Regions from separate parts of the Homo sapiens genome. Here all the other regions are linked to region 4. The links are contacts of gene promoters, found by promoter capture Hi-C in blood cells and fetal thymus (Javierre and others, 2016). All regions are on one chromosome and are shown on one strand. Each heading gives the region's core, a stretch centred on a gene start or on the middle of the fragment in contact. The rest is flanking DNA. Distances are from core to core; before and after follow the strand shown.

Region 1 (4,196 bases), core at 592-3,091, 260 kb before region 4:
AGGCTTACAAATAGCCACGTAGCGGTCATAGGCCATCACTGTCAGAAGGAGACACTCCGTGCCTCCAAGCATAAGAAAAAAACACATTTGTGTAGCACAAGCAAACAAAGAAATATTTCCTTTCTGAGTCCAAATGTCCATGAGCATTCTTGGGATAATGATTGTTACATAACAGATTTCCAAAAGGGAAAAATTGCTAAGAAAAAAATACATGGGAGTCTGGAGAGCGGGGTGAATTTTTATTAGTAGTATTATGATGCCATTGCACATCAGGATCATCAAATACATAAGTAAAAATATACTAAAAAGCATCCAGTGGAGATTGGGAATATCAGAAAACCCCAAAAGAACAAATTCCATTATTGTAGTCACATTTGATTTTTCTCTTTTAGTTTGCTCTCCATCTGCAGATATAGCAAATTCAAGACAGTTAATTCATCCATATTTTGAACAATATTTTCCTCTTGGGTTAACTAAATGAGATACAGGAATATACTTACTTAAGCTCTTAAGTCATTTTCACCAGTACTTGCTCTGTTTCTAGATAATAAACTGATTTAGCATTAAAATCAATTTAAGAAATGAAACCTCAATATATTTTATTATACTGGGATATAATGCAACCAGAGGCATTGAGAAGCATGCATTGTTGTTTAGAAAATATTATGGAGGAATAACATCTTATTATTTCACACTTAAGAGTAGAGTTATAGTGTAGGCTTTTACTATTTCATCTGAGAATATCATTTTTCTTTGTATTGGTAGTCATATTCCAGTTTTTTTAATTCAAAATGTTGCCCTTGAATATTACGATTAATTCATACTCAAAATGAATTTTAAACTTTTCCTTTTATGCACCAGTGAGAATCAATTATCTTAAACAATTTCTTGGTTACTGAGAGACTAAATACATGCATTATTGTTGCTCTACTTCATGTCTCTCTCCTATTATTTATGCTAAATATAAAAACACTAATACCAGTAGGCAGTTTATTGACTTCCCCTGTTATTGCCCTGAATACAGTGAATGCTAAATAGTAATTAAATTATAACTTAATCAAGATGTAGAAATTCATCACAATTTTTTTTACATTTCTTTTTTTTATCTAAGTGAATTTCTCCATTGTCATATAACCAAATACAGTTCCTTTCAACCAAATACAATTCCTTCTCTCTATTTTCCCTTCATCCTGTTGCCTTATTAAAGTAAAATTCTTTGATTAAACCCAGCTAACATTTACTCTGGCCATCTAAGTGGCCAGAGCATATAAATGGGACCAAAAAATTAAACAAAACAAAACAAAAACACACTGTCTTGCTTCACTTCATGTCAATGTCATCCAATATGAGGAAATCACTGCTTGTCAATTCCCATTACACTTGCTTAACGTTTGTTCTCCAACTTTCTAAACAAATTCTTTTTTTCTGTGTCTTCAAATCTGCTGCACCTATACCTATTTTAGCCCGGTCAGCCAATGCATTTGACTTAATACGTTGATAAATGAAAGTGATCAGACAAATACTATCTCATATTTATACATTTCTATTAGTACTAGTTTTCAAAATTGCCTTAAATGACTTTTCATCACTAATGCAATTTTACCATTATTGGACATCTAATTTTATTTAACTTTGTAGTGAAGAGATACATGATTTAAATGTTAAATAATTAATTTTCAGATAAAGGTCTCAAAATTTCATGCTTTTCTGTTTTATTAGTTGCATTTCTATCCACAAACTTGTAACTATTCTTAAATAAAATAGTCTGTCAACCCAATTATGGCTTACCTTTAGGGATTTGCATGAAGCTGTCTGTACAGACTTTTTAAGCTCTTCCTTTTCTCGGGAACTGTAATTTTGCAATACGCTTGCTTGTTTCAAACAGCAACAGCTCTTATATAGGAATAGTCAGACTCAACCTGGGATGTGTCTTCTCTTGAGTATCAGTTTAATTTCTAGAAGGCTGCTTCTGTTTGTCAATCATTCTGATTCATTTTTCAAAACTACTTTAAGTAAACTTATCCTCCTCTTCATCTCCTCATGAGGGGAGTTAATTAAATACCATTTAGTTGTCTAGTATTACTTTCAGGAAAAAGTTAAAAATTTTCCAACTGTGTATTTGAGGCCCCTAATACTTAGTGTGGATTTGTCTGCCTTACTTCTATTCCAATAATTTATCCAGATCCAAATTAACTAGACCTTTAAAAAATATATCATGTGTTTAATCACACGAACATGATATGCTTGATGTCTTCGACATATTGAACGGTGAGATTCTTTTTCAGATGTGGAACCCTCTGTTCCTAGGTTAACTTTTTTTGTGGATATTAAAACATGTTAATTCTGCTGAGAAAATCTATCTATACATTTATTTCATTCTGTGTTGTCTATAAGGCACCAGGGAAATGTATCCAGCTGATTGAAAATGTAATATACCACTCCAAGACGTCCCACTAGACGCAGTCAAGAGGAACATCGCCCACGAGGGACCAGGACATCAGGAAGATTGGTGCACTCCTAGCAAATCTTCAGAAGGAAAGGAATTCTGCATGGGGGTACCACACACAGGAAGCATTCCTGGCCCCCAGTGACTCCTGCAAAAGCATGAGTTGAATGGGCAAGGAGCAACCCTCTCTTTCCATGAGCCTCCGAATCCCAGCAGGAGAAAACCCCTGGACCACAAGTAACACTTGAACTGGCAGGGAGAGATGCTTAGACAAGTGGTAGGGGCAGAACTCCAGCCTGTGTGGAATCCAGAGGGTTTAGTGTGAAAGTGTCTGTAGTGGAGCATGGCCAGGGATGCCCATCCCCCCAGGCTTGACCTGCTCCCGTAGGAAGCTTTAGCCCTATGGGAACTATGGGACCTGAATTCTGCACGGCAGTCTCACCCACTACATGAGGCTATTCTAACTTCAGCACCACTCAGTTTGCTGGCCTCTCCTGGGTCCCAGCTTGGCCCCCAGCCAGGTACCTCCTGGGGGCCACATCATAGCTCCTGTGCTGGTGGACCCCCGGCTGACCAGCAGACTGATCCAGCAGAGTAGCCTGTGCAGACACAGGCCAGCCCACCAGCACCCTCCCTGCACTGCAGCCTCTCGGGCCACTTTGCCTGCACTCACTCACCCATAGCCACCCCCTATTTATGTCTCTCTCCTATTATTTATGCTAATTATAAAAACACTAATACCAGCATCCCTTTGCCAGTGAGTGTGTGTGCCAGAGGACATTGCCTTCCCTTCCCTGCCACTGTGAGTGTGCCCATACATCCTGTGTGCCACTGCTCCCGGAGTGAGTGCACCTTTGGCCCTGCTGCAGAGCCGTTGTCCTCGGAGCGTTTGTGGGCCCGTCCCTCCCTGAGCGGGTCTAATGGTCACTAACTAGTGATCATTAGAGAAATGCAAATCAAACTTTCCATCACTAACCAGTGATCATTAGAGAAATGCAAATCAAAACCACAATGAGATAGATACCATCTCACACCAGTCAAAATCACTATTATTAAAAAGTCAAAAAATAACAGATGCTGGTGAGGTTGCAGTGAAGAGGCAACACTTACAGTGTCTTGATGGGAGTGTAAATTAGTTCAACCATTGTGGAAAGCAGTGTGACGATTCCTGAAAGAGGTAAAAACAGAACTGCCATTCTACCCCATAATCACATTACTGGCTCTAGATCCAAAGGAATAGAAATCATTCCATTATAAAGATGCATGCACACATACATTCATTGCAGCACTATTCTCAATAGCATAGACATGGAATCAATCTATATGTCCATCAGTGGTAGACTAGATAAAGAAAATGTGGTACGTATACATCATGGAATCCTATGAAACCATTAAAAAAGAAGACTATGTCCTTTGCAGGAACATGGATGGAGCTGAGGGCCATTATCCTTAGCGAACTAACTCAAGAACAGAAAACCAAATACTGCATGCTCTCACTTAAAAGTGAGAGCTAAGTGATGGGAACACATGGACACATGGAGGGCCTACCTGAGGATGGAGAATGAAAGGAGGGAGAGGAGCAGAAAAAATAACTATTGGGTACTAGGCTTAATACCTGGGTGAGGGCCAGGCACTGTGGCTCAAGCCTGTAATCCCAGCACTTTGGGAGGCCGAGGAGGGCGGATGACCTGATGTCAGGAGTTCGAGACCAGCCTGACCAACATGGAGAAATCCCATCTCTACTAAAAAT
Region 2 (4,559 bases), core at 1,993-4,492, 300 kb before region 4:
TACTTATAAAGCATGGACAAAAAAGATTTACCATAATTTTTAAGAACCCTAGGATTTTTAGAGGGGTAAATGAGCATTGGCATCAACTTAAAGTTGCAGTTTCCTCTAAAAAGAGATCAGCCTGTTCTGTGAAGGTTTTATGCCAGTCATTGACTTCTCTCTAGCTATAAAGGTCTTAGGTGATATCTTCCAATATAAGGTTGTTTCCTCTATATTGAAAGGATGTTGTTTAGTGCAGCCTTCATCAATTAACTTAGCTGGATCTTATGGATAACTTACTGTAGCTTCTGCATCAGCTCTTGCTGTTTCACTTTGTGCTTTTATGTTACGGAGATGGCTTATGTCCTTAAACCACAGGAATCAACCTCTGATAGCTTAAATTATTTCTTCTATGGTGTCCTCACCTCTCTCAGCCTTCACAGAATTGAAGAGAGTTAGGGCTTTGCTCTGGATTAGGTTTTGGATTAATGGATTGTTGTGGTTGTTTTGATCTTCAAGCCAGACCACTGAAATTTTCCCCATATCAGCAATAAGAGTGTTTTATTTCTTATCACTCATGTTCACTGAAGTGGCATTTTAAATTTCCTTCAAGAATTTATCTTTCTATTCACAATGTGGCAGTTATCCTGGCACAGGTTTTCAGCCTAACTTGTCTTTTGCCATGCTTTCCTCACTAAGCTTCGTTATTTCTAACTCTTTATTTAATGTGAGAGATGTGCAATACTTCCTTTTGCTTGAACATTTAAAGGCCGTTGCAAGGTTAATTGCAACTTGTCTACTTTTGATATAGTTGTGTCTCAGGAAATAGGGAGGCCAAAGGAAAGGGAGAGAGCCAGAAGGTCAGTTGGCAGAGCAGTCAGAATGTATATAACATTTATCAATTAAGTTCACTGTCTTTTATGGGTACAGTCCATTGTGCCCCTAAATAATGATAATAGTAACATCAAAGATCACTGATCACAGATCTTCACAATAGATAAAATAATAATGTAAAGATTGAGACATTGTAAGAATTACCAAAATGTGACACAGAGACATGATATGAGAACATAATGTTGGAAAACTGGTGCCAGTAGACTTGCTTAACACAGTGTGGTCCTGAACTTTTAATTTGTGAAGAAAAAAACAATATCTGTGAAATGAAATAAAATGATACATGCTTGCATAACTGTAAACTTTCATATTTCCATTTCATAGCTTGTAAACAGTTATCATACATAATAATGATTTGCAGCACACAATATTAGTTACAGAAATACATTTTGTAATAATACACATACTTCTACACATCCTTCAATTAGAATTTTCAAACACACATTTCATGCATGGTTTTCTACCACAGTACTGGATTGATCTCCCTATGAGGATACAATTACGATAGTGTAATAAATTAGAGATAGTATTCTTTTTCTGAGATTCCAGCAAAGAACGTTCCTCACATTCAGTAACACATTGGTGTATTTAAAAACAAGAGATAGTAAAACAAATATTTTGCATTGCAATTAACCTATATTGCTCAAGCCACTAAGAAAATGTTTCCAAATTGCTTTATGATACATTGGATGTAGAAAGTTATCAACATGTTATCACCTGCATTTTAAAAAATATTATTTGGCTTTTTATGATTGCTTTTCTAACATTCTAGCCTCTATCATCTTATTTTATTACATGCATTTTAATTAGTGTGAGATATTATAAAAACATATCTTATAACAAACATGTAAGTGTATATAATGTCCAGGCACTATTCTCAGCTCTTAACTGTATTAACTCTGTTCACCATCAAACAATCAATAGCATATGTGCAATATTCATCCCATTTTACAGATAAATGAGGCATAGAAAAATTAAGCAACTCATTCAATATGCCACTCACTAGCCAAGTATAGATCTGGCATATAAATCAAAGCAATCTGACTTATTTTCTTATCCAGTTATCCAGTAATCTACACTTATAACTGAGATATTCTACAGATAGATACGCACATGTACATGCATGCATACTTTTCTGAAATATTTACTATATCCCTTAAGATGGCTTGATGAAATTGATTTTAGCATAAATCTCAAGCTAGTAATAACTGAAAAGTAGTATAACTAGCATTTAGCAGGAACTTTGAAACTTTTAAATGATTTTAAAAATATTTTAGGACTATGAAATTCATTTGGCTGCATTAAACAAAGTGCTTGATAAAATCCCTAGTGTGAGAGGTTGTGTGTGTGTACAGGTAAGGTTGTTGTAAGTTCCCAATTACAGTATGTGATTGAGAAATTAGATGTATCTTGAGATGCTTTATCTCATGAAGAATCTACCTTTGATCTTAGAACTTTCTCAGCTGCATCCTTTACATCTTTATTTCTCAAACTATAAATCAACGGATTCAGCACTGGAATGAAAATGGTGTAGAACACTGAGATAATTTTATCAGTGTTTGGAGAATACAGGTAGCTGGGCCGTGAGTAAATAAAGAGGAGAGTCCCTTGGTAGATCGTCACTGAAGTCAGGTGAGAGGCGCATGTAGAAAAGGTCTTCTTCCTCCCACTGAAAGAGCGGATCTTTAAGACTGAGAGAAGAATGAAAAAGTAGGAGATGATGATGATGATAAAACAAATGATTTCCACTGAGCTGCCGTATGTGGAGAGGAGCCACTCATTAATTGTTGTGTCAGTGCAGGATAGTTTAAGCAGGGGAGGGAGGTCACAGAAAAAATGATTAATAACATTTTTGTCACAATATTTCAGAATAAAGGCAAAGGATGTGTGAACCAGGGAACTCATGTTGCCTCCAAGGTATGACAAGACAATCAACCGCATACAGATGCCCCTAGACATCACAACTGTGTACAATAAAGGGTTACAGATGGCGACATAGCGATCATAGGCCATGGCGGCCAGGATGAAGGATTCTGTATCTGCAAAAGTACAGAAAAAATAAAACTGCAGGGCACACCCATAATAGGAAATAGATTTGTTCTCCGAGAGGAAATTGACCAGCATTTTGGGAACAATGTCTGAGAAATAGCAAAGGTCTACAAATGATAGGTTGCTAAGGAAAAAATACATGGGGGTTTGAAGGTGAGGATCAATCCTGATCAACAGCATCAATCCAATGTTCCCTATCAGAATTATAGCATACAATGTCAGAAACATGAGGAACAGGACAATCTGCAGTTCAGGGCGAGTTGGAAAACCTAATAGAATAAACTCAGTGACCAACGTGTAGTTTCTATCTGTAAATTCCATCTTCTGTGTTGTTTTCCTTTTATGAGAATTTCTAATACCCTACAATGCTATAATGATGAAAAAAGAAAAATAATTAGATGTAATTATAAAGTTATTTTATTGTTTAAAAATAAATAAATGGCAATAAGATAAAGAAAGCAAGCTCAAACTTTTTTGAACTATAAACTCTGAGAAATATATTTCAGAATTTAGTAATATCATATTTCATGGTTGCAGGTTATATTTTATTTGATTACTATTTCTTCCATTGAACAGTTGACTTCCTATGTGCATGGATCATGTCTGATTTGGCTTACCATTTTGCACCCAAAATATTAAACAATTACTGGCCCAGAGTATTAAAAAAGTAATAAATTAATGAACAGACTGATGATCACATTAAGTAAAGAAAATATGTATATTATTAAAAATGGACTGACTTATAGAGTGTTCCTTTGAATAAGAATTTTAGAACATCTGCTTCTTGTTTTCAGGATTTGATAGATACCGGTATGCTGTGTCTCTTGACTGAGTAAATAGAGTGGTGTGATGAAATATGCCGGCTAATTTTTTTTTTACTGTAAAGCAGAAGCTTTAGCGAAATAAAAACAAATGTCAGTAAATACCAGCTCTGAGGATATTTTTGACAGAAAAGAGCTTAGTGTAATTCCATAAACCCTGTTCACATACTAAACTAAGCTGATAAAATTAGTTAACTACTTGTTTCAATACTTCTGGCATTTATCGAACTCCTTGGCTTCCTGGAAATGCTCATTAAACATTAGTGGACTGACCAAGTACAGTCAGCAAAACATTTAGTTATATGTTAACTTGCAATTAAATAACATTACTATATATGGCATCATCACTGATTAAATTTTATAAGTAAAGAACAATTGTTGCATTTATTGTTATGGTAGTATAATACAAAGTGTTGAGTCAGAAAAATCTGTTAAACACTGCTTCTGAGGTCTCAAAATACTTACAGAATTATAAAAATTTTTAACTTGACTTTGAAGTACAAATAATTTGATTTTGACCATGAAGGATAGACTTGGAAATACGTAAAAAACAAAACAACAACAAAAAAAAGCAAGCAAAGCATCAATCTCTAAAGTTCATGTTGAGAGGGCCAAGATGGGAATTAAAAATATTTGAGTCACTGCCTCATTTACATAATAGATATTATGACAATGACAGTGCTAAAGACAATTTATTTATCTCATGTAAGCAATAAAACTACCCAATGACATAAACACTGAGAAGCCTATTGATAATCAGAAGGGTTAATCACGTGCTCAAAGTGCTGCCTTATGTTATCACCTCAAAGCGTGTGA
Region 3 (4,472 bases), core at 1,719-4,218, 310 kb after region 4:
CAAACAAAGAAACAAAACACAAATGAAATGAGGAACAAGGCCTTGATATTTGTTTTCACTACCTCTATTTGACATTATAATATCAGTCTAAGTCTGCAATGATGAAGGAAAAATAAATAAAACTCATAAATATTGGAAAGGAATAAAATCTGTTAATTTGCAGATGAAATGAAGTAAATTTTAGAGAATTTATAGAAGAAACAAACAAAAATTCTACTCTAATTAAGACAAATGAGCAGGGTTGCTGGATGCAAGGGTCATAATTAAGCTCAATTATTATGTATCCTAGTAACAAATGGATATGAAATATACAATGAGACATACGGTTTCTCTTGGCCTTAGAGTTCAGCATTTTGGTTGATTACCGAGATTCAGCTGTACTCTTGTCTTTAGAAGCTGTGAAATATAACCATATATTTGTCATAAATTGCCGTTGTTGACTTAGATAGCTTGGGGCTCTTTTTTCCTTGTAAAACTAACAACAAACCCAAACAACAACAGGAACAAAATGCAGAAGCCTTATAAATACAGTTACTTAATGTACAACTTAATATATACACAAAATATTTTATCTTTTTATTTTCTAATGGCGTAATGGCAGAATTTGCCTTCCAATAAAGATATTTAGAAAATATTTAGTATTTTGAGGCAATAAGTAGAAAGTTTGGAGAGTAGAAGAATCTTGACCAGGCACAGTAATTTATGCCTATAATCCCAGCATTTTGGGAGGCTGAGGCAGGAGAGCCACTTGAGCCCAGGAGTTTAAGACCTTCCTGGGCAATATAGACAGATATCAGATCTACAAAAAAATTTAAAAATTAGCCGAGTGTGGTAGCACACACCTGTGGTCCCAGCTACTAGGGAGGCTCAGGCGGGAGGGTCACTTGAGCCTAGGAGTTGGAGGAAGTTATTAATATGATCATGCCACTGTTCTCCAACCTGGGCAACAGAGTGAAACTCTATCTTAAAAAAATATATTTTTTACTTGTTCCTTAAATAATTCATTTTAGCATAATGTCTAAAGAGGAATTCTTTCTACTTTCTAAAGTTTCTTGAAGATGCCAGAGCAATGTCTTCTCTTCCTGTGGAAGAAATCCTTACTTCCTTGGACACATATAAACAGGCCAGTGCTAAGGAAAACAAAAAATTAACATTACTTACCTAAACTTAATTACAAATAGAAGGAATATTCAAAGCAAGGTGGATACTCTATCGTATGACCTATTGTTTACTCGGTTCTTTCATTTCCCATTTTAATTTTAGTCCTTATTCTCAGATCAGCCTGCTTAAATTTTTCAAAATCAGGCGAAACAGAAAGTGACCTCCATACACTGGAGGCTCAGAATGGGAAGGTGGGTTTATGTAACTCAGAGAGCTGGATCCATAAACTCAAGTTTAAGAAAAGTACAATCATTCTCTTCCCCTCTTTTTCCATTGCCACTCTTCACTATGTAAGAGCACTTATAAAAACCAGAAGCCATCACCATGGCCCCTAGTTTCTGGTCTACCACAGCAAGTCAGGAAAGGAGTACAGAAGAATGGATTTCTTGGAGTGCAGAAGAATGGGTTTCTTAAAGACATCTCTGCTGAAGCAGCAGGCGAGAATAAGAATAGAATACATTCAAGAAATTGGGCTGGGAGCACATTTATTTTGTTTGCCATTGTAAACAAAAAGAGCACAACAGTGTTCCAGGGCATGCCACGTTTCACCCACAGCAGTGCTCCTCAAAATTCAGTGTGCTTATCAATCATCTAGGAGTTTGGATAAAACACATATTTAAATACAGTGCACCTGAGGTGCAGACTTTGATTCTGTACGTGTAACAACCTCCAAGGAAGAGCTCATGCTGCTGATTCATGGAATATATGTGGAGGAGCAAAGCCTAGAAAAATCTCATTTTTACCCAGCATGAGCTTTTTAGCTGAGACACTCAACATAGACTCACAGAGAATATTAAAACTCACCATCAGAACGCTAGGACATGTGAGCCAAAGATTTCGATTTAATGTTTATTAGGAAACAAAGGCATCACCATGGTCATGACAATATTTCATCTCAGGACATTCTTCAAGGCCTGCTTCACATCTTTATTCCTCAGACTGTAGATCAATGGATTAAGTACCGGACTCACAAAGGTGTAAAAGACAGCTATTATTTTAGATTCCTCAACAGTCTTATCTGTTGGTGGTCTTATATACATGCAAAAGAGAGTCCCATAAAACAGGGTGACAGCCATCATATGGGAACCACAGGTGGAGAATGCCTTGTGCCTTCCCTCTGCTGATTTGATCCGGAGGATGGCAGCAAGAATGAAGGCATAGGACACCAAGACGATGGTGAGGGAGCTGGAGAGGTTGAAGCCAGCAGATATGAACATGGCATGCTCTTTGACATAAGTATCAGAACAAGAAAGCTTAATGAGCGGCGGGTCAGCACAGTAGAAGTGGTTGATGACACTGGATCTACAGAAGGTCAGGCGGAAGGTCAGGATGGCCTGGAAGAGTCCATCTGAGAAGCCATAGACATAGGGAAATGTGGCCAAGCAGATGCAAACTCTCCTGGACGTTTTCACACTGTAGCGCAGAGGGTCATATATGGCCACATAGCGGTCATAGGCCATTGCTGCCAGCATGTAAAACTCAGTGAGTAGAAGGGCAATGAAAATGTAGCACTGTGTAAAGCAACCAGCAAAGGAAATGGTCTTCTCAGATACGATATTAGTCGACATCTGCGGGGTTGCATTTGATGTATAGCACAAATCCACAAAGGCTAAGTTAGTGAGGAAGAAGTACATGGGCGTGTGAAGGCGAGAGTCCAGTCTCATTAACATTATCATGCCCAGGTTGCCTAGCAGGGTGACGAGGTAAACAACCAGAAACAGCACAAAAAGCAGAGACTGGAGTTCCGGGCAATCTGTGAGCCCAAGTAAAATGAATTCTGTGATTGCACTGCCATTTGTGTTGGACATTTCCTGACAGTTTGCTCTTCAAGCTATGGAAATAAAGCCAATATAAACAAATGCACATACCATGTTAATGTTCATTTGAATTAGTTTTTCTCCACATCTTCATATATCATCGAAAGTTATCTATTTCTGGGTACTACCATAAACTGGTTTTGGTAATTATGGTAGACTTACTATAATTTTGTAAGTCTACAATGTCATTATATCATTTGCCTAGGCATTACATTACTAATATATTCTTTCTCTACACCTATAGATATATCTATACCTACACCTGTATCTATCTATCCATCATCTATCTATCTATCTATCTATCTATCTATCTATATGACTGAGCTACATCTCTTCTATCTTCCTGTACTTTTTAAAACCTAATTCTATTCATGCTACATGACCCACTTTAAAGGCCACTTCTTTGTGAAGCATTTCTCATCCATTTCTCCTAATACGTGTCACTGAATTCTCTCTTCTTTATTTCCAGAGTATTCTATATTTCTCTAATTTATTATTTAGCCCCCATTGTATCATTATAAAGTATATACTTTCTCATCACATAATGGTGTTGAGAGCAGGGACAAAGTGAAGTTCATTTTTTAATTATACTTCTCAACACATATTTTTATACTAAATTTTCTTAAAATGCAAAAAGGAGAGCATGTAAGAATGAATGACTTGCAATTTTTACTCACAGATTTATCTCCATGTAGCCTTGCGTGATGTCATGTTCTCAGGAGAATTAAGTGATTATTGAAACTTAGTGTAGAAGCAATTCTTGGGAAGCTTGTTTATTAGCCCATATCACAGGTTTTTGCAGAAATTCTTATGTGGGGTACTGGAATCTTCATCTCTAATGATTATCTGTAGGATTCTAATGCAAGTGTTCCAAGATCATAGCTCAAAATGCACAGTCAGAATGGCTCAATAAACATATGCCAAATAAATGAACAAAGAACTGTGAAATAAAATAAATTTTCATATAGTATCTTGAGGATGTTTAGAGCAATGACTTAATGTGTTTAGAAAGAAAATAAATTAATATTTTCAGAGTTGGTATTTAATCTTTTAATCACAACTTGTATCTAACAAGAGGTATTACAAATCCTTTTGGCTTTTTACCTCTCTTCACATCAGAATCTTTGCTAATTCACATTTTCCTTTCTTTCGAGAAGTTTTTAATTTTTGCCCATTCTTTCATACTTGAAATTTTTATTACAGGCTTCTCAATTCTTGTCTCATCTCAAAATGAGTCACCTCATTTATTTTACTGTAAGTTTTAGAATGCCTATAATCAAAACTCTGTCTTGCTGTTACTATTGAGAAAAGCAACGTACAAAAAGGTTAAATAATTGAACCGAGGTCACACTACTAGTGCATACAATCTGAGAATCTGAGGTAAGAACTGAAAATTATGTATTTTAAAAACTTCCTTTATTAGCTGCTGCTGCAATACATATCACCTTTCTAAAGCTAAACTGTTTCATAAAATTGTATGTATAGACCTGGAAG
Region 4 (4,049 bases), core at 165-2,664:
AACTGAGGAATAGCAGGCATCCACAGAAGACAACATACTCAGAAAATAGTACATGGGTTTGTGGAGCTGGGAATCCCTAATGACCACTAAAATCAGTCCTAAATTTCCCATGAGAGTGAAGAGGTAGATTGCTAGAAACAGGAAGAAGAAGATAGTCTGCAGTTCAAGATTGTCTGTGAAGCCCTTCAGTACAAATAAGGTAACTTCAGTGACATTCTTCATGTTGAAATCTAGAACAAACTTGAAGATATGCATAAAGTTACAGTTCATATTATGACAAAAAGAATGAACAACACCATGACTCAAGGGGATGTTAACTGTGCTCTTGTATATACTGTACGACATATATTCAGCAGTGCATAATTCTCTAGTAGTGAATCAGAAGACAGTGACAAACTGGTCAGCCATGTGTTCATGCCACTCACTGCAGAATCAAATGGAAGAAATGGACGTTCATTAGTTGGCTGGACTTATTCTGTTTCTAAAATCATCAGGTCTACTGGTTAATTTACCACTGAATTGTATTAAGCTGTTTATATATTAAATAATATTAAAACACACAAAAATGAGTGGCTTAAACAATCTTTGGGCATCCAAATACACAAGAGACTGTATCAGGGGACAGAGCATTGGAATACAATACCAGAATTTTAGAACTTGTAGCAATTGTGCAAAATGATTTGCTATATCTACTTGTCTATAGAATGAGAACATTAATAGTTTGTTCACAAGATTGGAGTAAATATTGAAGGAAAATTGCATTAATAAAATATAATATGTAAAATAATTTTGATTATAGAATATGCTGAATTAAGTTGGTTCTACATTCTATCAAGATTAAATCCAATGAACAGTTATGATTTTTTTCATCTGCTCATTCAAATGTCTCTGAATTATTCTTTGGAGAATGAAGAAGTTTTGTGAATTACTTGATCATTTTATGCCAAAAATAAACATGCAAATTACCATGATTCCATTTTCTACATTACAATTGTCTTAATTTTGCTTTGTGCAAATAAGATACTTCAACCAAATTTCTTGTGAGACAGGCATTTCTACTAGATGCCAAAATAAGTTATATTGGGTAAAAATTAAGTTAATATTAGCACATAGTCAAAGATTCAGAGTTATAAAGAGAAAATCACTATGATTCTTGAAGATTTAATAATATAGAATCAACTTTTTAAATTAATGCAAATCTATTTTTATGAAACAAATTTTAATGGAAGGGAGAAAACTTTAAATATCGTGAATGTAATAACGAAACACTAAGTTTGCTAAATAACAGGCATTTATTTAGCACTTGCTGCAAGAACAGACATTTCTTGTACATTACCTTATTTCACCTTTATAGCAACTTTCATAGCTAACAATTTCCAGAGCCAAGATTCAATCCCAGGTTTCTCTCATTGTACATGAAATTTTTGCATTTTTTCATGGCCTCATAAATGGCTTCATTCTGCAACTGGAACACTCTTCCTCTTACCCCTCTGCTGACCTCAGGGAAATAAAGGTAAAGCAAAACATGATTCTCGATGTATTTGTATTTTTTAAGCCATTAAATCTAGAGAAACATAAAATAAGTAGCAATCTGAAGTGACTTCTAGATTATAAAGCCAGAAAATAAATTTAAAATAAGTATTGATTGTTTTCCTTATTACTTCAAAATACAAGACCCCAGATAAATGAATAAGTCAAATGTTTTTTTGCCCTTTGTTGATATTTATTGGTAAATTCATGACCTTTGAACTATCTTTATCTATAAGAAAAATACAAGCATATACTCTATTAGGAGCACTCTTATTTATCTCTATAAGTACAAATACAATATTTTCTATTTTTTATTGTTTTCTAGTAAGTGTTGGATTTTAATTCTTAGGCATAACTCTAAATAAATCATATTTTGATGAATACACTTGATTCACATATGTAATAGTCCAGAACTGAAGTGTTTAGTTCTTGGTGTTTAGCAGCTAAAAAGTTTAGTAAAAAAAAACATAGTTATTCTTGATATTGTAGGTTCTAGCTGCCGAAATATTCTTCAAATTATCTGAAATTTTCTCTTACCTGTGGAACAGCAAATGCAGATTTAGGTATTCTATGAATATGGCTAACTTAGATTGTTTATATCTTTGTAATTGACTGTTGATGAAATCCAAGGAGATGTCCCAAGGGGAATATGCCCCAATTATCTTCTGTTTCAAAATAGCACCATGATGATTTACTTAATAATAAAAAGTAAATGATTCCGGAATAAGGCACTGCATGCTCCTACTTATTGAATCAATAGAGTTCTTTGGCTTCTGTTTAAAATGTGTCAGATTTGAATTTCCCTGATGACTACTGATGTTGAACATCTTTTCATACATCTGAAGGCCATTTGTATGTCTTCTTTGGAAAAAAAATGTATTCAAGTCCTTTGCCAGTTTTAAAATAAGATTATTGTTATTGTGGCTATTGAATTTATATATTTTGATATTAATCCCCTATTAGATATATCATTTACAAATATTTTTTGTTTGGCTGATGGTTTTCTTCATTGTGCAGAAGATTTTGACTTTGACGTAGCCCTACTTGTCTAATTTTGGTTTTGTTACTTGGCTTTTTATGTCATTGCTTGTATTTTTATGTTACATCCAACAAGTTACTGCCAAGCTGAAGGTCCTAAAGTTTTTCCTTATGTTTTCTTCTAGAAATTGTAGTTTCAGGTTTTATGTTTAAATTTTTAATCCATTTTGGGTTGGTTATTTTATATGGTATAAGACAAGGGTCCAATTTAATTTCCCATTGTGTATTCTTGGCACACTTGTGAAAGATCATTTGACTATATACATGTGGGATTGTTTCCAGGCTCCCTATTCTGTTCCGTTGGTCTATATATCTGTCCTTATTCCAGTCCCATGCTATTTAATTACTGTAGTTTTGTAATATCATTGAAATAAAAAAGTATAATACCTCTAGCTTTGTTTTTCTTTCTCAAGATTCCTTTGGCTATTTGAAGTCTTTTGTAATTGCACATAATTTTTACGATGTTTTTTCTATTTCTGTAAAACCCAGCACTAGGATTTTGCAGGAAATGCATTAAATCTGAAGACCCCTTTGGGTAATATGGAGATTTTAATTATTGCAGATCAAAACCACAATGAGATATCATCACACACCTGTTATGGCCATTATTTAAAAAAAAAAAGTATTGATAAGAATGTGGAGAAATTGGAACCCTGGTGTACTGTTGACAAGAATATAAAACAGTGCAGCCATGATTGAAAATAGTATGGAAGTTCCTTGAAACATTAAAAACAGGATTACTATACAATCCTGAAATTCTGAAACCACCTTCGCAAAATTATGACAGTAAGAGAAATCTGCCATGACTGACTTCTTCTTGCTTCTATCATCACAGGCTGTCTGTCTTTGCTCATCTCTGGGCATGGACCAAATAACTTCGGGAGAAATTTAGTTTATAGTTTAAATGATAATAGTCCTTTGCAAAAACTAAACCACCTTTGTAAAACTAATCAAAGGCACCAAGTTAAGAGGATGAGAGGAGTCTGTGTTCTGCTAAGATATAGGCCTAGTAAAATGATTACCAGCCATTTTTTCCTGGAAGTCACAAGATTTGCAGCTTCCCCAATTATTCCTGCAGATAACATAGCTATTGTAGAACCTAAGATTGGCATTTTGAGATTCTTTTCAAATATTTGTATATCTGATAGCTGGATGGCCCCACCTGGACCTCTGACTCAAACAGTCATGTGGCCCCCACCCAGAAACACACTCAACACATGAGGATCATTTTCCACATCCCTATGATTCATCCTAAACTGATCAGCAACACCCATACCCTAGCCCTCTGCCCATCAAACTATCTTTGAAAAGCACCTAACTTTCAAGCCTTCAAGGAGATTGAATTGAGTAATAACTCCCTCTCCCATATGGTGTGGCAAGCCTCATCTCTTTTGCTTATTCTCATGCATTTTCATCCTCATAGCTTAGCTCCAGCTTATGAATGAGATGACATGATATTTATTTTTCCATTCTTTTCTTTA
Region 5 (4,411 bases), core at 1,641-4,140, 440 kb before region 4:
CAGAACACACTTTTGACCAAATGTTTTCTGATGAAAATATAATCACATCAGTTGACATATTGGGTATGAAAACATTATTTCTTCATCCAAATTTGGAAAATTATATCTTACCTTTCTATATTTTGGCAATGATAAGAAATAATTCCAGGAAAGAAGCAGGTATTATACCATTTATATGTAATGAAGTTTAGAATTAGAAGTTTATTTACATAATTTTTGAATTCTGCCTTATGTCTATTTCTGTCTTTTTACATGCATATATGTATAAACATATATTTGTGTGTATATATATATATAAACATACATATACATACATGCATGTATAGATGATCATGTATATATATGCATGTATATATATTTGGTTGCCCACTGTGATTGACGCATCTGAAATCAGCTACATGCTCAGCTCTGAACATGTGGGCCTAGTTCTACAGGAATAATGGATATTGCAACTAACTTTGTAAGCAAATCAATCCATGGAAATTGTTAACTCAGAACATACTTAAATTGCTTTTTGCCAAGGAAAACACACTCTAGCACTTAGTGGCTGAAGGCAGTTTGATATTTCTCACCATTCTCTGGACTTACTGGGTGGTTCTTCTTCCAGTCTCACTGGGGCTCACTCACGTTGCTGAACTTACTTGGGGATTCTGATGGAGCTAACGCTTCCAAGATAGCATCACTCACTTGTTACCTGACTTGGTGCTGGCCATTGGTTGTGGTGTCTCAGTATTTTCCCAAGGAGTTTCTCATCTGCTTGTAGGGTACAATGGTTTTATTATGTGGTGTTCTCAGAGCAGCATTTGAAGAGAATGAAAGAAACTGCAATGCCTTTTGATGCCTCAACTCAGAATGCTCACGTCACTCCTGCAATATTTTCTTGGTCAAACAAGTCACAATTCCAATTTAATGAATCAATCACTGTGTTCTCTAGTGGAAGCATGACACACTTGGGAGATAAAACCTCTAAACCCTTAGAGCTCATGGTTTCTCTTATGGGAAAGTTCTAGGTCTCACAAATTATTGGAGGAACAGCAATGTATGTTGGTTGCAGATTTCAAGCATATAATATATTCAGGAGGCTATTACTCCATCCTTCTAAGGTATTGCCAAAGAACCTGCCCTGTAACTAAGTTTCAAAAGGTGTTCCTCATGTTCCAAGCATACTTTTTGAATTTGTAAATACTAGAATATTTGTCTTTAACTGTTGCTTTTCAGGGCCACCTTAAGGTAGGATTACAGTCCTGCAGTTATTCACTTTTGTGTGGGCCAGCATATCATGGGGAATCATCTGAAAATGAGGCTCCTATGCTTTCTTCCACATTCAGGTTGCCATAGGGAATGCCCCATGAGACACAAATTCAGGCTGAGCAAGAAGAAGCAATACAGCAAGGTATGGGCCACGGACATCTGTAGCACTTGATTATGAAATTTACTTGTGTTTTCAGGAATAGGAGTGCTATTGGCTGCTGCATATTTATACCCAGGATGCATGCAGGATAGATTATATCTCACTAAGAGGTGCACTGAATTTTGGAACAGATGAGGCAAGTATTTAAAGTTTTATTGTAATTTGAATTACATGCAAGCAAAGCTTGATAGTTAACTTCATGCTGCATTTTTTTTTCTGAGTAGTTTCAAGGAAATTCCAGTCACTAAATGTGACACAAGAGACTTGGTATTTGCCTTAATTGCCTGTTTTGATGCTTGTAAAGAGTAAGTTGTTAGTGATTCTCCAGAGTTTGAGTCCCTAGGGCTATGAAGTTAAATGAAAGAGTCTTGGTGCCTCAGGTATACACTGTCTGAAGAGACAGGAGGGTGGCAGCCTGTTTCTTTGTATGTAGCAGGTAAGTGTATTCAGGCTTTCTATGAAACTGAAAATAGGGTCTTCCTGATACGGCAAATGGGGCCTTTGATTTTTTAAATGTTAAATCACTGTGTTATTCAATTCTGTGCCCAATAATATTAAAAAATGAGGTCAACACTCATGAAAATATTTAGCCTTATATCCATTGAAAATTATCTCATGATGAATAGTATAAACTTGCTACTTGGAAATGGATATTTATCCATATTTCCTTTATATTCATCTTAAATTAGTGTGTAAATTTTTATAAGATTGAAAACTAGTCAGGCTTAAGGGAACTTTCACCTGATAAATCTTGAGACTCTTATAAGATACTTATGCAATACCTGAGCTATAGTAGATGCTGACCCTTAAGTCATAAACCCCAATAAAATGCCCATTCCACCAAGAGGTCAAAAGTAGGCCATTGTCCTTGTCAACTCCTCAGCAACTAAGATATTCAATGAGAGAAGTAGCCTTTCTAGAATAAAAGTTGGTAAAAAGTGGAATTAGTGTGCTCTTTTTCCAGATTTCTACAATATTTTCCTTTATCCTTAGAATAGAAATATATTCTGAATATTTTAATCAATTTGTCTATATAAACAAATACAGTAGCAATGCATGTTGTTGTTTGATGTAAATATTTTACATTTTCCACAGAATCTTTATTAGTTTATATATTTATGTATAAACATTTTCTATAAGTTATGTGCATGTCATGCTACTAGTTAATGTGTAGACATGTATACTACTGTACACATATACACACACATACACATACACATATATATTCACACATATATATATGTATGAAAACAGAAAGTGTAATAAAAATGGAAAGACACTCCAAAGACTTGGCTTGGTTTGTTTTAGACATAACAGCTGCCTGCATGAGGTATGTTCTTCTTGGACAAAACTAGGACCAGTAACTATTCCTTCTCCTTTTTTCCTTTTAATCAAAGAAAGTCATGACATAATTATCACTCACCCCATATTTTGCTTTGGCAGGAACAATTCTCTTCAACCCTTCCATTAAAAGGAATTATGATGATGGTTTTAAGGAATCTGAGCATGGAGCCCACCTTTGCCCTTTTAGGTTTCACAGATTACCCAAAGCTTCAGATTCCTCTCTTCCTTGTGTTTCTGCTCATGTATGTTATCACAGTGGTAGGAAACCTTGGGATGATCATAATAATCAAGATTAACCCCAAATTTCACACTCCTATGTACTTTTTCCTTAGTCACCTCTCTTTTGTTGATTTTTGTTACTCTTCCATTGTCACTCCCAAGCTGCTTGAGAACTTGGTAATGGCAGATAAAAGCATCTTCTACTTTAGCTGCATGATGCAGTACTTCCTGTCCTGCACTGCTGTGGTGACAGAGTCTTTCTTGCTGGCAGTGATGGCCTATGACCGCTTTGTGGCCATCTGCAATCCTCTGCTTTATACAGTGGCCATGTCACAGAGGCTCTGTGCCCTGCTGGTGGCTGGGTCATATCTCTGGGGCATGTTTGGCCCCTTGGTACTCCTTTGTTATGCTCTCCGGTTAAACTTCTCTGGACCTAATGTAATCAACCACTTCTTTTGTGAGTATACTGCTCTCATCTCTGTGTCTGGCTCTGATATACTCATCCCCCACCTGCTGCTTTTCAGCTTCGCCACCTTCAATGAGATGTGTACACTACTGATCATCCTCACTTCCTATGTTTTCATTTTTGTGACTGTACTAAAAATCCGTTCTGTTAGTGGGCGCCACAAAGCCTTCTCCACCTGGGCCTCCCACCTGACTTCTATCACCATCTTCCATGGGACCATCCTTTTCCTTTACTGTGTACCCAACTCCAAAAACTCTCGGCAAACAGTCAAAGTGGCCTCTGTATTTTACACAGTTGTCAACCCCATGCTGAACCCTCTGATCTACAGCCTAAGGAATAAAGACGTGAAGGATGCTTTCTGGAAGTTAATACATACACAAGTTCCATTTCACTGAACCAGTCTCAAAAGTTGTTTTCAATCCAAATGAACAACCCAAACAGAGGCTACAATGTTTCTAAAGCCTAGAGCATATATTTATATGAGGTTTTTATGGAATTGTCAAATGTGAATTGATATAGCATTCCCAGTATTATCAGGTTCAGAAATCTCTACAAGTTTAGTCCAGTTTATACAAAATGAATGAAAATAAACATTTAATCTGAAAACAATGAGAAACCATATTTCAAAATTATTTCTAACTTTTATATGAATGACTAAATAAACACAAATATTTGGTAACAAATACTATACAAATTCAAGCAACATTCTCCAAATTTTCTCTAAAAAGAAACCTTTCCCCTAGGAACAAAACTAGGGCTTCTTGGAGAAATGGCTAATTTGAAGTCTAGGGTGGAAAATAGGCAAGATGAGCTTTGGGCAATTTAATGCTCCAGAAAGATAGAATACTATCAGCAGCTAATCAGATTGTCTCAAAGAGATATAGGAAGCAATTTGAAATGGCTGATGCTGGTTTATGGTCAGAAAAAACTTTTTAAACATAAAAATGGATATTGATTACAATTGATTTAAA
Region 6 (4,076 bases), core at 1,021-3,520, 410 kb after region 4:
AACATTGAGAGTTTCCTCCTCACTATGATAAGCAATACAGATACAATTTTCTTTGATAAGTATTTATTGAAAATTATGTGAACCTTTAGGAAGAGCAGAGATAAAACGTTGAAGTACATTGATTACTACCAACAAAATATTCAGTTTAATTCAAAAGTCAGTAAAATATTCCCCCATTATTCTTGTGGTTCCCACAATATCATAATACCTGATAAGACTTATTCATCTATCTGATTTGGTACCTCTTGACATACTTGTAGGTAGAGTAGTGTTATTATTTATTATGAATGCTGTGGCACACTACCCAGATTTTTTTTTTTTTTTTTTTTTTTGAGACGGAGTCTCGCTCTGTCGCCCAGGCTGGAGTGCAGTGGCGGGATCTCGGCTCACTGCAAGCTCCGCCTCCCGGGTTCACGCCATTCTCCTGCCTCAGCCTCCCAAGTAGCTGGGACTACAGGCGCCCGCCACTACGCCCGGCTAATTTTTTGTATTTTTAGTAGAGACGGGGTTTCACCGTTTTAGCCGGGATGGTCTCGATCTCCTGACCTCGTGATCCGCCCGCCTCGGCCTCCCAAAGTGCTGGGATTACAGGCGTGAGCCACCGCGCCCGGCCCACACTACCCAGATTTGCCTCTCAGGTTGAAGTATTCATTTCCCCAGCTTCCAGGCATATAGGCCACTGACAGCTGATAGCTGACCTACACTCCAGGAATTTCCCCTGCTGAAGGGAATTGCCTTGTCCAAGATAATATTACCCCCTCTCAGTGGGTGATCATGTCCAAAAATTGGCTATTGTGGAGGTACAAATACTTGTTCCTTTTTTCTTAATTTGGGACATCTCTGAAGGACATCTCTGCAGAACGCCATGTAACAGTGGCTCAGTCTTCGTCACAATTCAACTCCTTCTGTCCAATCCTGCTCCCCTCACTATATATTGTTTGTGAGAACACTCTGATAAACTTTCTGCCTAAAAATATCTCTCTGTCTCAGTTTGTTTGCCCAGAACCCAAAGACACCAATGTTTGTATAATAAAACTCAGACTGAGATAAGCTTAATATTTAAATTAAAACTTAAGTCCAGATTAGCCAATTCCAAGTGTTTTGATACTTTTTCCAGTCCCAACCTTCATCTAGTGTATTGGTGCATCAAAGGGACCCGTGTGTGTGTGTGTATATATATATGAGATACTAGGATATTAAAAAGTATACTTCATTTTAAATTATCTACTTTAACACAGAGAAACAGCTTAAACAATCAGAGAATACAGTTAACATGAAAATGTATTTTCTTCTACGTAACAAATGATGGGTAACATGGCTCTACAAGATGTGTTTCCATAAGATCTTCTTTAGGGCCTTTTTTACATCCTTATTTTTTAAACTATAGATGAGGGGATTTAGCACAGGGATTATTACTGTATAAAAGACAGAGACAACCTTGTCTTGCTCCATTGAGTAGCTAGATGTAGGGCGCAAGTACATGAAGAGGATTGTTCCAAAGAATATGGTGACAGCCATGAGGTAAGAGGCACAGGTGGAGAAGGCTTTGTGCCTGCCCTCTAACGAAGGCATCTTCAAGACGGCAATGAAGATACACAGGTAGGAAATGAGGACAATCATAACACAGCTGATGACAATAAAACTTGAGAATGCCATGATCACAATGCCATTGAAGTGGGTATCAGAGCAAGAGAGTTTGAGCAGTGGCGGGGTGTCACAGTAGAAATGGTTGATCCTATTAGAACCACAAAAGGACAACCTAAAAGTCATCCCTGTATGTATGGCTGCATTTCCACAACCTGCTAAGAAGGAGGTAGCTATTAGCAAAAAGCAAATTCTCCCAGACACGAGAACTGGGTAGAGCAGGGGGTTCCAAATGGCTGCATAGCGGTCATATGCCATCATGGCCAACAGGAAGCACTCAGTCCCCAGGAAGGAGCCAAAGAAGTAGAACTGGGCAGCACATCCATGAAAAGAAATGGCCTTATTCTCAGCCATGAGGTTCACCAGCATCTTGGGAGTGACGGAAGAAGAGTAAGAGGCATCTACAAAAGAGAGGCTACTGAGAAAGAAATACATGGGGGTGTGGAGACAGAGATCAATCTTAATCAATACAATCATCCCCAAATTGCCCACCATGTTTGCCATATAGATCAACAGAAACAATGCAAAGAGGACTCCTTGTAGATCTGGATTGTCGGAAAGTCCTAAGAGGAGAAATTCTGTTACTTCTGTTTGATTTCTGCCTCGAACCTCTTTCATAAGTCTCATCATTTGAGCTGCAATAAGAAAGAAGATGCACAGTGGAATTTAGTCAGATGAATACATGATGGAGCTATAATATATTTTTAGTGAAACAACTTCTAACAGAAGAGCAAAAAGTGAAAAGCATAATAAAAGGTATGTTGGATTTGATGCCAAATCAAAAGACTTGTAGTACTAGATGTGCTGTCTACTAATGACTGAAGCAAGTGATTTAGTGTGTATTAACTATGGTCATTCCTACAGTTAACTCTTTATTGAATAATTAAAATAACTTATTCTTAAGATGTGACTGTCATAATTACTTGTGATAAATAAATTAATTTATATATACTGACATACCCTCCAGACACAACTTCTGGAGAAGGATGATAGAATGAATTCAGGACACTTACAATTCCTCCTCAGTACTAATAGAATGAATAAAAATATTGAAAGTTAATAAAATTAATCTATAGTGCCAGACAAGAAAAATAGTTGGGCTGGGCCTGGTGGCTTACAACTGTAATCCCAGTACTTTGAGAGACCAAGGCAAGGCAGATCACTTGAGCTCAAGAGTTAAAGACCAGCCTGGGCAATGTGGCAAAATCTCCTCTCTGCAATATTTAAAAAAAAAAAAAAAAAAAGCTATGTGTGGTGGCTCATCCCTGTGGTCTCAGCTACTCAGGAGGCTGAGGTGGGAGGATTGCTTGACCCCAGGAGTTTGAGGCTGCACTGAGCTGGGTTTGCACCACTGCACCACTCCAGCCTGTGCAGTAGAGTGAGACGGTGCCAAAAAAAAAAAAAAAAGAGAAAGAAAGAAAGAAGGAAACAAAGAAAGAAAGAAAGAAGGAAGGAAGGAGAGAGAGAAGGAAGGAAGGAAGGAAGGAAGGAAGGAAGGAAGGAAGGAAGGAAGGAAGGAAAAAAGAAAGAAAGGAAAGAAAGAAAGAGAGAAGGAAAGAAAGAGAAAAGAAAGAAAGAAAGAAAAACAGCAGAATCTCTTGGGGTAGAGGAAGAGCTTAAAAATGCCTGGCCAAAGAAGAAAATAGAGAATATTCCCACACAGCCAGTACAGTTCGAACCCCACTCTGATTTTCCATAATAAACATCTACAGAGAACAGAATAGGGTCAGTTAAATAGTAATTTTCCACAATTCATTCCAATATTTAGAGAATCAGATTGTAAGAATGAGTAGGCATCCCCGATAAAAATGGCAGAAGTAGCCAAGCCAGTGAAAATCTCTAATACTCACATTCACAAGTTCTCAAGAGAACCAGAAAACATCAGAAGTAGCACATGCAATTTTTCAGCCACCATACTTAATCAAGGGAATAATTTAATACCAAGTAATCAAAATGGAAATAAGAGTCACCCTTTGCAAGGTGTAATGAAGACAAACATAGGATAAGAAAAGTAAAAGAAATAAAAAAGAAAATTCAGAATAGATGCCCAAACTAGATCTTCCAAATCAAAATGTAAACACCACCAGCGGAATTCTCCTCCAATTTAACGCAAATCCTCCACCCCTTCCATGATCTCAGATTATTAAACAAAAGTTTAAACTTACTAGGCTAACTGTCAAAATATAGCTCAGAAGGTAAGACAGAGTTATATCCTTTGCTACTCACAGAAAAAAGTTATTTGATACTGTTTAAATTAAAACATGGGGTCGGCCGGGCACGGTGGCTCACACCTGTAATCCCAGCACTTTGGGAGGCCGAGGCGGGCGGATCACGAGGTCAGGAAATCGAAACCATCCTGGCTAACACGGTGAAACCCTGTCTCTACTAAAAATACAAAAAATTAGCCAGGCGTGGTGGCAGGCGCCTGTAGT

The links. The method cuts DNA at HindIII sites, captures the fragments that hold promoters and counts their contacts. A CHiCAGO score of 5 or more calls a contact.
Region 1: the fragment with the promoter of OR10AG1 here is called in contact with the fragment with the promoter of OR5T2 in region 4 in 2 of 17 cell types (megakaryocytes and non-activated CD4 T cells); the score reaches 5.2 in megakaryocytes.
Region 2: a contact is called between the fragment with the promoter of OR5I1 here and the fragment with the promoter of OR5T2 in region 4, in 4 of 17 cell types (M1 macrophages, activated CD4 T cells, endothelial precursors and 1 more). The highest score is 6.8, in M1 macrophages.
Region 3: a contact is called between the fragment with the promoter of OR5M11 here and the fragment with the promoter of OR5T2 in region 4, in 9 of 17 cell types (M2 macrophages, neutrophils, endothelial precursors and 6 more). The highest score is 10.0, in M2 macrophages.
Region 5: the fragment with the promoter of OR5D14 here is called in contact with the fragment with the promoter of OR5T2 in region 4 in 6 of 17 cell types (erythroblasts, total CD4 T cells, neutrophils and 3 more); the score reaches 7.9 in erythroblasts.
Region 6: the fragment with the promoter of OR5AP2 here is called in contact with the fragment with the promoter of OR5T2 in region 4 in 4 of 17 cell types (M2 macrophages, neutrophils, fetal thymus and 1 more); the score reaches 10.2 in M2 macrophages.

The regions. Positions count from the first base shown.
Region 1 is chr11:55,968,104-55,972,299 of GRCh38, forward strand. OR10AG1 (olfactory receptor family 10 subfamily AG member 1) reads right to left here and starts at 1,842. Exons shown (of 2, transcript NM_001005491.2): 1 at 1,789-1,842; 2 at 1-404. The coding sequence starts at 1,804. The HindIII fragment of the contact is 3,009 bases long and covers 1-2,836 here.
Region 2 is chr11:55,933,158-55,937,716 of GRCh38, forward strand. OR5I1 (olfactory receptor family 5 subfamily I member 1) reads right to left here and starts at 3,243. Exons shown (of 1, transcript NM_006637.1): 1 at 2,299-3,243. The coding sequence starts at 3,243. The coding sequence ends at 2,299. The HindIII fragment of the contact is 3,136 bases long and covers 677-3,812 here.
Region 3 is chr11:56,540,289-56,544,760 of GRCh38, forward strand. It overlaps OR5M11 (olfactory receptor family 5 subfamily M member 11), which reads right to left and starts at 2,969. Exons shown (of 1, transcript NM_001005245.1): 1 at 2,052-2,969. The coding sequence starts at 2,969. The coding sequence ends at 2,052. The HindIII fragment of the contact is 1,332 bases long and covers 2,413-3,744 here.
Region 4 is chr11:56,232,841-56,236,889 of GRCh38, forward strand. OR5T2 (olfactory receptor family 5 subfamily T member 2) reads right to left here and starts at 1,415. Exons shown (of 2, transcript NM_001004746.4): 1 at 1,337-1,415; 2 at 1-424. The coding sequence starts at 222. The HindIII fragment of the contact is 5,726 bases long and covers 1-4,049 here.
Region 5 is chr11:55,792,666-55,797,076 of GRCh38, forward strand. OR5D14 (olfactory receptor family 5 subfamily D member 14) reads left to right here and starts at 2,891. Exons shown (of 1, transcript NM_001004735.1): 1 at 2,891-3,835. The coding sequence starts at 2,891. The coding sequence ends at 3,835. The HindIII fragment of the contact is 1,368 bases long and covers 1,593-2,960 here.
Region 6 is chr11:56,640,169-56,644,244 of GRCh38, forward strand. It overlaps OR5AP2 (olfactory receptor family 5 subfamily AP member 2), which reads right to left and starts at 2,271. Exons shown (of 1, transcript NM_001002925.1): 1 at 1,321-2,271. The coding sequence starts at 2,271. The coding sequence ends at 1,321. The HindIII fragment of the contact is 8,469 bases long and covers 1,050-4,076 here.